4 separate regions of the Homo sapiens genome follow, and regions 1, 2 and 3 are each linked to region 4. Evidence: promoter capture Hi-C in 16 types of primary human blood cells and fetal thymus (Javierre and others, 2016). All regions are on one chromosome and are shown on one strand. The core of a region is centred on a gene start or on the middle of the fragment in contact, and the rest is flanking DNA. Distances in the headings are between cores, read along the strand shown.

Region 1 (2,946 bases), core at 92-2,591, 290 kb after region 4:
CCCCAGCACCGCCCCGGCGGCCGCCAGCCAGCCGCGGCCCCGCCCATGCCCCTCCCCGCGGGTCTGGGCCCGCCCCTGAAGCGGGGAGGTGTCGCAGGGGAGCCCCCCGCTTCCGAGCTGCGGCTGCGCATCAAGTCCTTCGCCAGCGGCTCTCCCTGAAACGGGGGGTTTCAAGGCGTGATTTGTAGGGGTGTTTAGTATCCCCTAAATCTCTGCCAGCTCCACCATGGCTATCCGAAGTAAACAACAGAAGCTAATTCAAAACTGGGTCCCCTTCCAAAAAATTACAAAAATTAGCCGGACTGGGTGGCGCATGCCTGTAGTTCCAGCTCCTTGCAGGGGACTGAGGCAGGAGGATCGCTTGATCCCAGGAGGTTGAGATTGCAGTGAGCTATGATCACACCACTGCACTCCAGCCTGGTCGACAGAAGGAGACCCTGTCTCAAAAAATAAACAAAAAATCGGCCAAGCGCGGTGGTTCACCCCTCTAATCCCAGTACTTTGGGAGGCTGAGGTGGATGATCACCTGAGGTCAGGAATTCGAGACCAGTCTGGCCAACATGGCGAAACCCCGTCTCTACTAAAAATACAAAAATTAGCTAGACGTGGTGGCACGCGCCTGTAGTCCCAGATGCTCGGGAGGCTGAGGTGGGAGAATCACTTAAACCCGGGAGGCAGAGATTGCAGTGAGCCGAGATCGCGCCACTTCACTGCAGCCTGCGCAAGAGAGCAAAACTCCGTCTCAAAAAAGAAAGTTAGGAGCCGCTTCAGTGTACAGTGGGTGACCCAGATTGGCTGCTGAGGTCCTGCCCCCTAAGGTCCTATCTCAAAAGCTGAAGATTTTGAAAAATCCCAGGCCATCTGAGATGCCATTCCTGCCTGGTACCCATGGCCTCGACCACACTAGCCAGGTTCCATCTCGGGGTTTCATCAGCTCAGATGAGGTGGAGTAGGAGGCCTCTCTGGTGTCTCCTCCTCCCACCACTTAGTGTTGCCTGAGTTTCCATGGCTCCAGGATACTAGCCCTGAGGGATGGATGTTCTCAGAGAAGCTTCTGTCCCCGGGATGGATGTTCTCAGAGAAGCTTCTGTCCCCAGCCCTGCCCTGAGCTATAGGCTCTGATGGGGTAAGTTAGTCACCTTCCCACAAAACTGCCCACCACTGAGAATCCAGGAGTCCCTACCTCCCAGCCACGAAGCAACTCTCTTTTTCTGAGGTGGAACAGAAGCCATCTCCCAGCTGTCTCCCTCTCCACACTTTGCAGCCTGGAGGCCATCCTGCCTGAGATTCTACCCTTAGAGCTTCATTCTTTTGTGACTTTCACACCTTTCAGAAACTTGGAGAAAGATCTGCCCCCAGGTGAGGTTTGGGTAACTCCTCCACTCCCATCCCCACCTCAGAGGAGGCTTGCTCCACCTCCACTGCCCCTCAGGCCCAAGCTCCTGTCTGGGTCCTCAGCCTCTGTGGAGTTGAGGTCTGTAGCATATCTCAAGGGCACTGGGGAGGTGCCGCTGCCCTGCATCCTCCCAAACCCCACAGCTCCTCTCACCCCTTTTGGTCTCCCTTTTGCCCCCCACCTCCACTTCCACCAAGCTTAGGGCTCAGTTCACTGCCCGCCAGGCCCAGCTGCTCTGATGCCCTCCTTGTTCTATTGTCCTTACTGTCTCCTCTGTCTGCCTCATCTGACTTTGCCTTCTCTGGAGGCAGTTAATTCACCTCTGAGCCTTGGCCCCAGGGTCACCTCCCTGGAAAGCCTTCCTGGGGCTGCCCTGGCCTGCCCCCCTGCTCAGGACAATCTGGCCTGCATGTGCACTCCATTCTGTGGACCATGAGCCCCTCCCGGACCAAGCTGGGCACAGCTCAGCTTCTCACTAAGGGCAGGGGGCTGCCATGGAAAGCCTGTCACTTCTAACTGGCAAGACAGAGCACCCAGGTAGAGTGGCATTGTGGGAGCTGTACCCAGTATGGGAGGTGGGGGCAGCGGCCAGTCCTCATGGTCTGTCTTAGAGAAGCCTTGTGTGGCAGTGACATTTTGGAGGGGAGACAATTTTGGAGGGGGCTGCAGGAGCCTGGGCCTGGAGTAAGGGGAGAGGAGAGTCAAGCTGTCCAGTGGGGAGAAGGCCTGGTGGGCGATGGTGCCATCCTGAGTGGAGAAGGCCTGGGAATGTGAGGAGTGGGGAGGTCAGGGTGGGGGTGGTAGAGGTGCTAGGTGTAACCACTGCTTAGGTGAAGACAACTCCTGTGCCCTTTCAGAGCCAGGGCAGGGTGCCTCGTGCCCAGGGTTGGGAGTTGGGAGGCAGTGGACTTGGGCCCAGACCCTAGAGGTGAGGAGGGTGATGGTGAGGGGTGTAGGGATGGCAACACTGGCAGAATAGCCCCTGTCTACCCTCTGACCTTCCTCACCAAGCTGGTGGGTGAGAGGTCCGTCAGGGCCTCCATATTACAGCTGAAGCTATGGAAGCCAGAGAGGTACCTGAGCAGTGACTTGACTTAAGGGCTCTGACCCCCACATCATAGCTAAACTGTGGTGGCCCCCAAATGCTCCCCTGCCATTTCCAGACTTCCACACTGGAAGGGGGAACGTGGCTCTGGTGCAGACAGTGTTGGGTGGGGATTGCAGCTCCTCACGGGACTCCCTGCCGGACTTGGGCACCAATTTCCCCTCAGGAGTGCCTGCTGCGCCTCCCCAGACCAGCTGCTGTGAGGATAATGGGGTTTGTGTTCAGCAAGTGGCCACCCCTGGCAGCACCCACAGCTCATGGAAACCACTGGGAACTGAGAACTGTTTAGTGGAGTTGAGGCTGGTGTTTAGTGAAGTTCCAATCACCAGGAGACTTTCGGGCCAGAGGATCAGGGTTGAAGGGTTTTAGTGCGTGCTCAGCCAAAGGGCCTCAATTCTGAGTCTGAGAAGAGGCCTCAGAGCCTGGTGCTTTGGGAAGCCAAGAC
Region 2 (3,024 bases), core at 511-3,010, 300 kb before region 4:
CACCACCCCAGCCAGGCCTGGCTCTCCACCACCCCAGCCTGGCCTCTGCACCATTCTGAGTCCTCTGGGGCCACAGAGGAACCCAGGTGCGAAGCCCTACCTGTTCTGAGCCCTCACTCTGCCTGGTCACCATTGGTAAGATGTGTGTCAGGCATACAGCAGGGGCACAGGTGTGAAGGGAGGGAGGGAGAGGAGAGGACGGCGGGAAGGGAGGACCGAAGGAAAAGGAATAAAGCGCTCACTCCATTAAGGTGCTGACGATGAGATGGATGTGACTGATGGGGCTGACGAGGTGCCCATGGCTGCCCAGGGCCCGGGGGGCCCAGAGTTCAGAAACTCCACCTCCACTGCAATTCTTTCCTCCCTGTAGTAGTGTCAAATGATTCCACGTGGCTCACATCCCCATTCTTCAGGTTGTGGGACTGAGTCCCTGGGTTGCTGGATTTCTAGCCAGGCTTCCAAGCCCTGCTCCTGCCCCTTCTGGTTCTGGGAGCTCCAGCCTCGCCTGGGGATTTTCCTGTTCCAGACTCACCAAGACTCTGCACGTGCGGCTCTCTCTACCCAGACCCCACTTTGCATGTGATTTTGTATTTGTCTTCAAGGTCCAATTCAGGTATCACCTCTTCTGGGACCCAAGGACCCTCCACCCTGGTTGTCACTGCAGCAGCCACAATGTGTTGTGGTTACCTATCCCTTCACAGCCCAGTAGCTCTTCTTGGGCCTATATGAACAATGGAAGGGGACAATGGCAGCTGCCACTCCAAATCCCAGCCTAGTGTTAAGGCCAGGCTGGCACAGGAGGGACAGTGCAGCTGGGCTCAGTGACCACCACCAGGATGCCACACAGGTCCAACAAGCCCCAGTGGACTGGCCCCTGGCCCAGGGGGAGTGGGAAGACAGGCCCAGGAAGCCACCTTAGCTGCCCTGAGAACAAGCCTCTGGGGGAACAGAGCCCAGCAGGGGCAGGGTCTCCAGAGGGTGGGCCCAGCACACTACCCCCCACCCTCCAAGCTAAGGTCAGTGGGATGCATGGTCACCAGCAATGGGGAGGCTGTAACAGTTCTACCCAGACCATGAAAGACATGTCTGGCCCTGGGAGAGAGGCACGTGCTGGGTCTAATGACCAGCATTTCTCACCAGGCAGTAGCCCACAGACCAACAACCACGAGGACCCACGGGGTCTCAGGAGAGAGGGCTTTCCCAGAGCAAGCAAGTATGTGTGTGAGAGGGGTCCACAGAGCCACAGCCATCTGCACGAGGGTGCAGAAGCACCTTCTGGACTGGGAGCAGGGAGAGCAGCCTGCGAGCAAAGGGCTAAGCACACAGTGACGGAACATGAAACCGACCATCCCCAAACACACGGACAGGCCCCACTTCCAAAAACGAGCCAGATGCTTTAATGGGCTGCCTCCAGGGCCCATCGGCTCATCAGAATCCCTTAAATGAGGCCCAGAGCTTGCCAGCCTTTGGTTGAGCTCAGCACTCCACAGGCAGGTGGCTCACAGCAGGCCTGGCTGATGGGCTCTGGCTTGGGGAGCAGCAGGGTCCTCAGTCCAGATCTTCAGAGACCTTCTAGGACTGAGCTGCCACTCAGCCTACCTGCACCAGTCCCTGAGTCCCAGCAGCTGCTTAGCTTCTAGAAAACATAAGTTTCCTGGGATAATGCCAGGGGTGGGGGAGGCAGTTCAGGGAAGCACTGATGTCAATTCAGGACAGGCCTGGGGCCTCCTGGGGTGGCGGCAGCAGCAGGCCCAGAACAAGGACGCCAGCTCCAGGCTGCATCCCTGCACCAGTAGCGGGGATTGGGAGCAGGGAGTGCAGGCTCCCTCAGGGAGCTCCAGGCTGGAGTAGGGCCAACCCAACCCCAAATGCTGGGGGGTGACTCCTGAAAGTGTGAGTCACATCCACTGCCTAAGGTACCACTCTACGATAGCCAAGTCCTAGGACACACGAAGACTTTCTATAGGAAGGTTCTCTGCCTCCAATTCTAGGCCCTGTCCCAGAGAGGAAGCAGAGACCAAATGGTGACAGGGTATGTATCAGGCAGCATCCCCACAACAACCCTGTGAGGTAGGTTGCGTTGTCCCATTTTACACATGGGGAATGAGGGCTCAGCAGAGGTGAAGTTTCTTGCCCAGGTCCTGCAGCAAGAACACGAGCCGGGATTCAAGCCCAGGTCTGTCGGGCTCCAAAGCCCATGTGTGTTCTCTAGGCAAGAAATAGGGAGTAGTCCTATCCAATAAAGACCCTCACGTTAAAAGCTCAGGGGCTCTTCAGCCCACCCTGAATGGGCCACAGGGTCAGAGATGGAACCCCTCCAGGGGAGCAGCCACAGCCCCAGCATCCACTCGTGGCCCCGGGGCAGCTGGGCAGGCAGAAGGGAAGGGTGGAGAGTGACTGCTATACACACAGCACTGGCAACCAGTGCTACAGGTGATGGCTCTGGCTGTCCAGCAGCTGTGGGCAGGGTGAGGGCTGGTCTGGTCTTGAGGACTTGTGGCCCCAGGTGGGCAGAGCCAGGCCATTGAGCCAGGCGGTCTCCAGCAGACTGCGGAAGCGGGCCTTCAGTGTGGGGCCAGGTGGGCTGGCACTGGTAGCAGGGGTAGGGGAGGCACCACAGGACTCTTCCCCAGCAGCTGCCTCTGCTTTCTCCGGGCCAGGGGTTGGTGGCTTCCTGCCTGGCTTCCTGACCTTGGGGGCCGGTGACTTCTGAGCCAGGGCTAGGCTCTCTGGCTCACCTCTGGCCACAGTGGGCTCTGAGGAGGACACAGCTCCAGCCTCAGTGTCAAAGTCACCTGGAAAACGAACACATAGTCAGCCTGCAGACCCCATACCCTCAGGTCCCACCTCCTGGCTTCCAAAGCCATCCAAACAGTGCTTCTGCTCTGCCCCAAGTCAGGCTGGCATCACAACTCTTCCCCACACATGCCCACTGGCCAGACCATCCAAGCAAAAAAGATGTGCTTCTCCCCAGGTGACACCAGAACTCTATCTGATGAGGGCACCACTCAGGAGAGGCTGTTT
Region 3 (2,771 bases), core at 3-2,502, 460 kb before region 4:
GCTCACTGCGACCGCCGCCTCCCAGGTTCAAGCAATTCTCCTGCCTCAGCCTCCCTACTAGCTGAGATTACAGGTGCCCACCACCATGCCCAGCTAATTTTTTGTATTTTTAGTAGAGACGGGGTTTGACTCTGTTGGCCAGGCTGGTCTCAAACTGCTGACCTCAGGCTATCCACTTGCCTGAGTCTCCCAAAGTGCTGGGATTACAGGAATGAGCCACCGTGCCCGGCTCATCCCGGTATAGTTTTTACTAGTTAAGATTGTATCCTGACTTCTTACATTCCATGTTATAACATGGACATTTTATGACACCATTAAAAACACTTCTTAGACATTATGAATGTATTTTATATAGATTGACACTGTTTCAGATGCTTTCAGACACTGGGAGTATGGTGGTGAATAAAATAGCCCTTGCCAACAAAGGGAGACAGATTCACTCATATAATTACAAAACTGAGGGCTCTGGAAGGAAATCCTGGGTACTCCACTGAGGAATTTGCTCTAGACTTAGCAGCGAAGTGGAGTCAGGAAGGCCTCCCTAAGGAAGTCGTGTTTGCTCTCTGAAGCCTAAGTATGGCATCACCACAGCCCAGCCTGTTCTCCAATGAATGGCCCGCCCATGTTGGCCGTGTTGGTTTTAGATCTTGGGTCTAAAAGTTTGAGCCTGGGAGATCCGAACATGATTTTAATATGCAAAGAGGGTTCCAAGACCAAGGCAGTGCTTTGCAAAGACAACTTTGGAAATATAAGACTAAACAGCAGCGTACTTTACATGGTTCCAAACTTTGCTACTTATTCTCTCTGACAGCAAGACATGGGATCCATCTGGTGTTTGTACCACAACCCTCCCACATGCACTCTTGTCACACTGTGGGATCCTCTGGGTAGTGGATCCTGGAAGCAGACAGGTTGGGCTCAGCTGGATGCCTCCTGGGTGCCCCTTCCCCAAGTCCCCGGAGTACTGTGCCAGTCCCTTAGCCTGAGGCTGTCTCCCCATCTTTGTAGCCTCACTCTCTATGTGGAAGTAGCCTGCAATGGGCTCCTGGGGGCCGGGAAGGGAAGCATGATTGCAGCCCCTGACCCTGAGAAGATGTTCCAGCTGAGCCGGGCTGAGCTAGCTGTGTTCCACCGGGATGTCCACATGCTCCTGGTGGATCTGGAGCTGCTGCTGGGCATAGCCAAGGTACTTGACACCCCCTGTACCCCCTGCTACCCTCTAGAGCCCTGCTCCAAGAAGGTTGTTCTTTGGGTCAGATAAATGGGACTCTGGGAATCCAGAGTAGGACGAGGGTTTCCACCTGCTTGAGGGTTGAGAGAATTTTCCTATGTGAAGGGGAGGAGGGAGACGGTGCTGAGCAGGGGGACCAGCAGGGAAAAAGGGTTGGGGGTCAGGGGAGCTCTGCTGAGAGCCCTGAGATCAGTGGAGCCTAGGTCTGGAAGCTGTGCTTGAAAAAGGGATTAAGGGGCAGAACCCTGCTGCAGGGCCTCGGGAAGGACAACCAGCGCAGCTTCCAGGCCCTGTACACAGCCAATCAGATGGTGAACGTGTGTGACCCTGCCCAGCCCGAGACCTTCCCAGTGGCCCAGGCCCTGGCCTCCAGGTTCTTTGGCCAACATGGGGGTGAAAGCCAACACACCATTCATGCCACAGGGCACTGCCACATTGATACAGGTAGGACAGCAGCTGGTTGGGCTGGCTGGGGAAGCAGGAGTGCCCTTGAAGACCTGGATGTGCCCTAGAAGCACTGTGTGATGCTCAGCAAGTTCTTGCTCCTCTTGGACCTGCGTTTTCCCCGTCTGTAAAACGGGGCCGGGGGGCTGGACTGTGGGCTCTGCTTGCTTTGGATTCACTTTTTTTTTTTTTGAGACGGAGTCTCACTCTTGTCACCCAGGGTGGAGTGCAATGGTGTGATCTCGGCTCACTGCAACCTCTGCCTCCCGGGTTCAGGCGATTCTCTTGCCTCAGCCTCCTTAGTAGCTGGGATTACAGGCACCCACCACAATGCCTGGTTAATTTTTGTATTTTTAGTAGAGACGGGGTTTCACCACGTTGGCCAGGCTGGTCTCAAACTCCTGACCTCAGGTGATCCGCCTGCCTTGGCCTCCCAAAGTGCTGGGATTACAGGCATGACCCACCGTGCCCAGCCTCATTTATTCTTTCAACAAAATCTGATGCCTCATGGGGCCCATGCTAGATATTGAGGGTAGGATTACAGAGACAGATTCAGCAGGCAGAGTTGGTGTCACAATGGTGGGGAGTCTGAGGCACTGGAGAGCACAGGAGAGGTACTTACTCCAGCTGGGTTGGGGGATTCCAGAGAGGCTTCCTGGACAAGTTTGCAGTGTCTGAGTTTTACGGGAAATCCACATTTTTAACAAGCTCCTGAAGGTATTGATTCTGATGCAGCCGAAGTTTTGGGATCACAGAACAAGGGCTTTCTCTGCTGTGCCAAGATGTAGGGTAAGGTGTGAGAGGTTCTGGGCTGGTAAGGGAGGAACTGCAGCCTGGGAGTCAGGAGAGGCTGTAGCACCTCTGGTAGGACAGCTGGCTCCATCCTGGGAGCCATGCCTCTGTTCCCAGGTATACATCAAGTTTGTGCAGGGGCAGGGTAGTCCCTGCTACTTCTCGTAGGATCCTCTAGGGGATGTCTAATTCCCCAAGAGGACTGAGGCTATTCTGGGGCCTGGAGCCTCCATTTCCTGACCTGTATAATTGGCCTCATAGCACTGCCGCCTCCTTTCCCCAGCCCCTCCTCCCACCTCGCTGG
Region 4 (2,890 bases), core at 274-2,773:
GAAAACCACTTCGTTGTTTTTTTGTTGGTTTTTTTTTTTTTTTTTTTTGGCTGGGGGGTGGTTGGTTGGTTGTTTTTGAGACAGCGTCTTGCTCTGTTGCCTAGGCTGGAGTGCAGTGGCCTGATCTCGGCTCACTGCAACCTCCGCCTCCTGGGTTCAAGCGATTCTCCTGCCTCAGCCCCTGAATAGCTAGGATTATAGGCACCCGCCACCACGCCCGGCTAATTTTGTATTTTCAGTAGAGATGGGGTTTCACCATGTTGGCCAAGCTGGTCTTGAACTCCCTACCTCGGGTGATCCGCCTGCCTCAGCCTCCCAAAGTGCTGGGATTACAGATGTGAGCCACTGTGCCCGGCCAGAAAACTACTTCTTTGGAGTCCACAGGCAACTGGGTACAAATTCCAGGTTTATCACTTAACTGGTAAACTTGACCAAGTCTAAGCTTCATTTGTTTAACAAGAATAACTATTGGCTTCATTGGGAGGTTATAACCATTAAATACTAAGTTGAGCTATATGAACCTGCTGTTTCTGGAGGCAAAAACAGTCTAACATCATGGGGAGTGGGGGGAATCTACCAAAATGGTAAGGATTCCTTTGTGCTTTTGATTTTTGAAAACTTCAGCCCTAAATTCTTCCTTTTCACCTCTCTTGCCCAAGGCATAGTGCCACCCAACGGTCTGCGTGGCCCTGGGAGCTCGGAGGTTGCACACTGTTGACCTACCCTATTGAAGCCAGTAAGTTAGTCAAGGGACAGCCTCATGAGATTTGGGAGTTCTACAAGGATCTGGAGTTTCTTTCCAGCCAGTCACAAGCACATCCCTTGGGGGCTAGAGAAGTCAAGAGCCCTGACACATAGCCTACCACACACAGACTCAGAGTGCACTTTCACCCTCCTTTTCAACGCCTATTTGCCTCACTGTACAATGAGTAGTGACATTGGCTCTATTTTTAAATGTGGAAACTGAGGCCTAGAGAGGGTCAGGTCCTGTCCAATGTCACAGGCACCAATTGGTGTTGGAAAGAAGGTGGGGTTTGGCGTCAGATGGATCAGCGCAAGCACTGCCTCTAGATGTGTCACCTTCACAAGGTTCTTTAACTTCTGGGGCCTGTTTCTTTTGCTAGAAAAGGTCGCTGATAACGCTTGTCCTCATATGACTCTTCAACCCAAGTCTGCTCTCTGGCAGCCCCACATGTGGGGAGACCCCCAAGGAGACACTGCGAGAAGCACAGAGTGCGGCGCGCCAGGACTCAAACCGTGGGCACCCGACCGACGCACACGCGCAGCCCCACGACAGTATCAGTATTTAATTTCCACTAGAGACAGAACTAAGCCTAACCATCACCAGGCTCAAGCCGCCTACCCCAAAACCGAGAACGGAACTGCCCGGTCCCCCCGAAAAGAAGGGCGGAACATTTCGGCCAAGTCCTCAGACTACCGAACCGGAGAGCTCCGAAAGGGGACTACCTGCGCCTGCGCACCGCCATCTTGTTAAAAGAGCCCGCCTCTCCCTCGGCCGGTCACTCTTTCGCCACGGGCGGGGTTGCACCATCCGGCAGGGCGGGGCCCGGCCATGGCGACCGCGGAGCCCAGCGGGCGCGCGTTGCGGTTGTCTACCCCGGGACCCCGGCCCAGCGGGGCTCGGGACCGCGCGCCGGGAGCTGCGGGGCCACCCTCCGGGCAGATCGGTAATAGAGCCCTCCGTCTGGGGGAGCGCACCCCCGCGGCCGTGGAAAAGCGGGGGCCATACATGGTGACGCGCGCACCCTCCATTCAAGCCAAGCTGCGTGAGTGTGGCCCGATGGTCGGGGGAGGTTTCTCCCTGGGCGGGCGGCCGCGTCCCCAGGGCGGGTTCCGGAGCTCCGCTGGGCCTCGGCCCCGGAGGGAAGGGGTTAGCTGCAGCCTGCTCTCGCCCCTCAAAATCCGTTCGGAAAGAGCGGCCTCCCAGCCTTCGGGAGACGCGGCGGAGTGGGGAAGACCCGGCTGACCCGGGTCCTTTAACTTCCAGAGAAGCACCGGGACCTGGCCAAGGCCGTTCTGCGGAGAAAAGGCATGCTGGGGGCCTCGCCGAACCGCCCAGACTCTTCAGGGAAAAGGTCTCAGCAGGCGCCACCTCCTCTGTGCCAGCAGCTTTAGAGAAGGCTTTAATCCCCAGGACGGAGGCAGGGTGCTCTGGTTTAAGGCCGAGCTAGCGATTCCCCTGATGCAACCTGTCAGGTTCACTATCTTTAAAATGGGAAGAGGAACAATCTCTCTTTTCCTTTAAGGATGTGATAGGATCAGATAAAGGGCTTCGGAATAAGGGAGTTCTGTGAGTGCACAGGCTCATTCACTATCATTCTCCTCCTCTGTTAGGGAGGAGAATGGTGGCTGGAGTCCCCAGCAATGAGGACGAAGAGCAGTGTGGGAATGGCTAGACCTGTTTTTGTTTGTTTGTTTTTAACAGAATAGTAAACTCGGAGCTGCATAGAACCTTATTCAGTGCCTCCTTTTACAGATGAGGGTTGAAACTCGGAGAAGTGAAGGTTAACCCTAACCTTTTACCCAAAGACTTGCAGTTTTTGTGTCCTCTGATTAAATAAGTGGGGAGAGGGTGCTTTTCCTAGATCAGGCAAGGGGAGGTGTGCTTTTTTCCAAGACCTATGGGAGGAGTAGAATACAGGCCGGGCGTGGTGGCTCACGACTGTAATTCCAGCACTTTGGGAAGCCGAGGCGGGTGGATCACTTGAAGTCAGGAGTTCGAGACCAGCCTGGCCAACATGGTGAAAGCCCGTCTCTATTAAAAATACAAAATTAGCTGGGCACGCCTGTAGTCCCAGCTACTCAAGAGGCTGAGGCAGGAAAATCACTTGAGCATGGTAGGCGGAGATTGCAGTGAGCCGAGATCGCG

Evidence for each region. The method cuts DNA at HindIII sites, captures the fragments that hold promoters and counts their contacts. A CHiCAGO score of 5 or more calls a contact.
Region 1: a contact is called between a fragment that was not itself captured here and the fragment with the promoter of FAM219B in region 4, in 4 of 17 cell types (neutrophils, non-activated CD4 T cells, activated CD4 T cells and 1 more). The highest score is 6.9, in neutrophils.
Region 2: a contact is called between a fragment that was not itself captured here and the fragment with the promoter of FAM219B in region 4, in 1 of 17 cell types (M0 macrophages). The highest score is 5.0, in M0 macrophages.
Region 3: a fragment that was not itself captured here is called in contact with the fragment with the promoter of FAM219B in region 4 in 2 of 17 cell types (monocytes and neutrophils); the score reaches 5.8 in monocytes.

Annotation. Positions count from the first base shown.
Region 1 is chr15:74,611,830-74,614,775 of GRCh38, reverse strand. CLK3-AS1 (CLK3 antisense RNA 1) reads left to right here. Exons shown (of 9, transcript XR_007064715.1): 1 at 1-2,946. It also overlaps a transcript of CLK3 not described here. Among named protein-coding and RNA genes, the nearest start is that of CLK3-AS1, 2.5 kb to the left of the region's middle. RefSeq lists a silencer at 1-165. The HindIII fragment of the contact is 509 bases long and covers 1,087-1,595 here.
Region 2 is chr15:75,210,520-75,213,543 of GRCh38, reverse strand. C15orf39 (chromosome 15 open reading frame 39) reads right to left here. Exons shown (of 3, transcript NM_015492.5): 3 at 1,375-2,795. The coding sequence ends at 2,428. Among named protein-coding and RNA genes, the nearest start is that of C15orf39, 10 kb to the right of the region's middle. The HindIII fragment of the contact is 6,741 bases long and covers 1-3,024 here.
Region 3 is chr15:75,362,903-75,365,673 of GRCh38, reverse strand. MAN2C1 (mannosidase alpha class 2C member 1) reads left to right here. Exons shown (of 26, transcript NM_006715.4): 5 at 1,009-1,186; 6 at 1,486-1,675. Among named protein-coding and RNA genes, the nearest start is that of MAN2C1, 4.3 kb to the left of the region's middle. The HindIII fragment of the contact is 8,016 bases long and covers 1-2,771 here.
Region 4 is chr15:74,905,484-74,908,373 of GRCh38, reverse strand. It overlaps FAM219B (family with sequence similarity 219 member B), which reads left to right and starts at 1,523. Exons shown (of 5, transcript NM_020447.5): 1 at 1,523-1,787; 2 at 2,009-2,096. The coding sequence starts at 1,574. RefSeq lists enhancers at 1,181-1,460, 1,302-2,106, 2,107-2,890 and a silencer at 1,521-1,820. The HindIII fragment of the contact is 3,941 bases long and covers 445-2,890 here.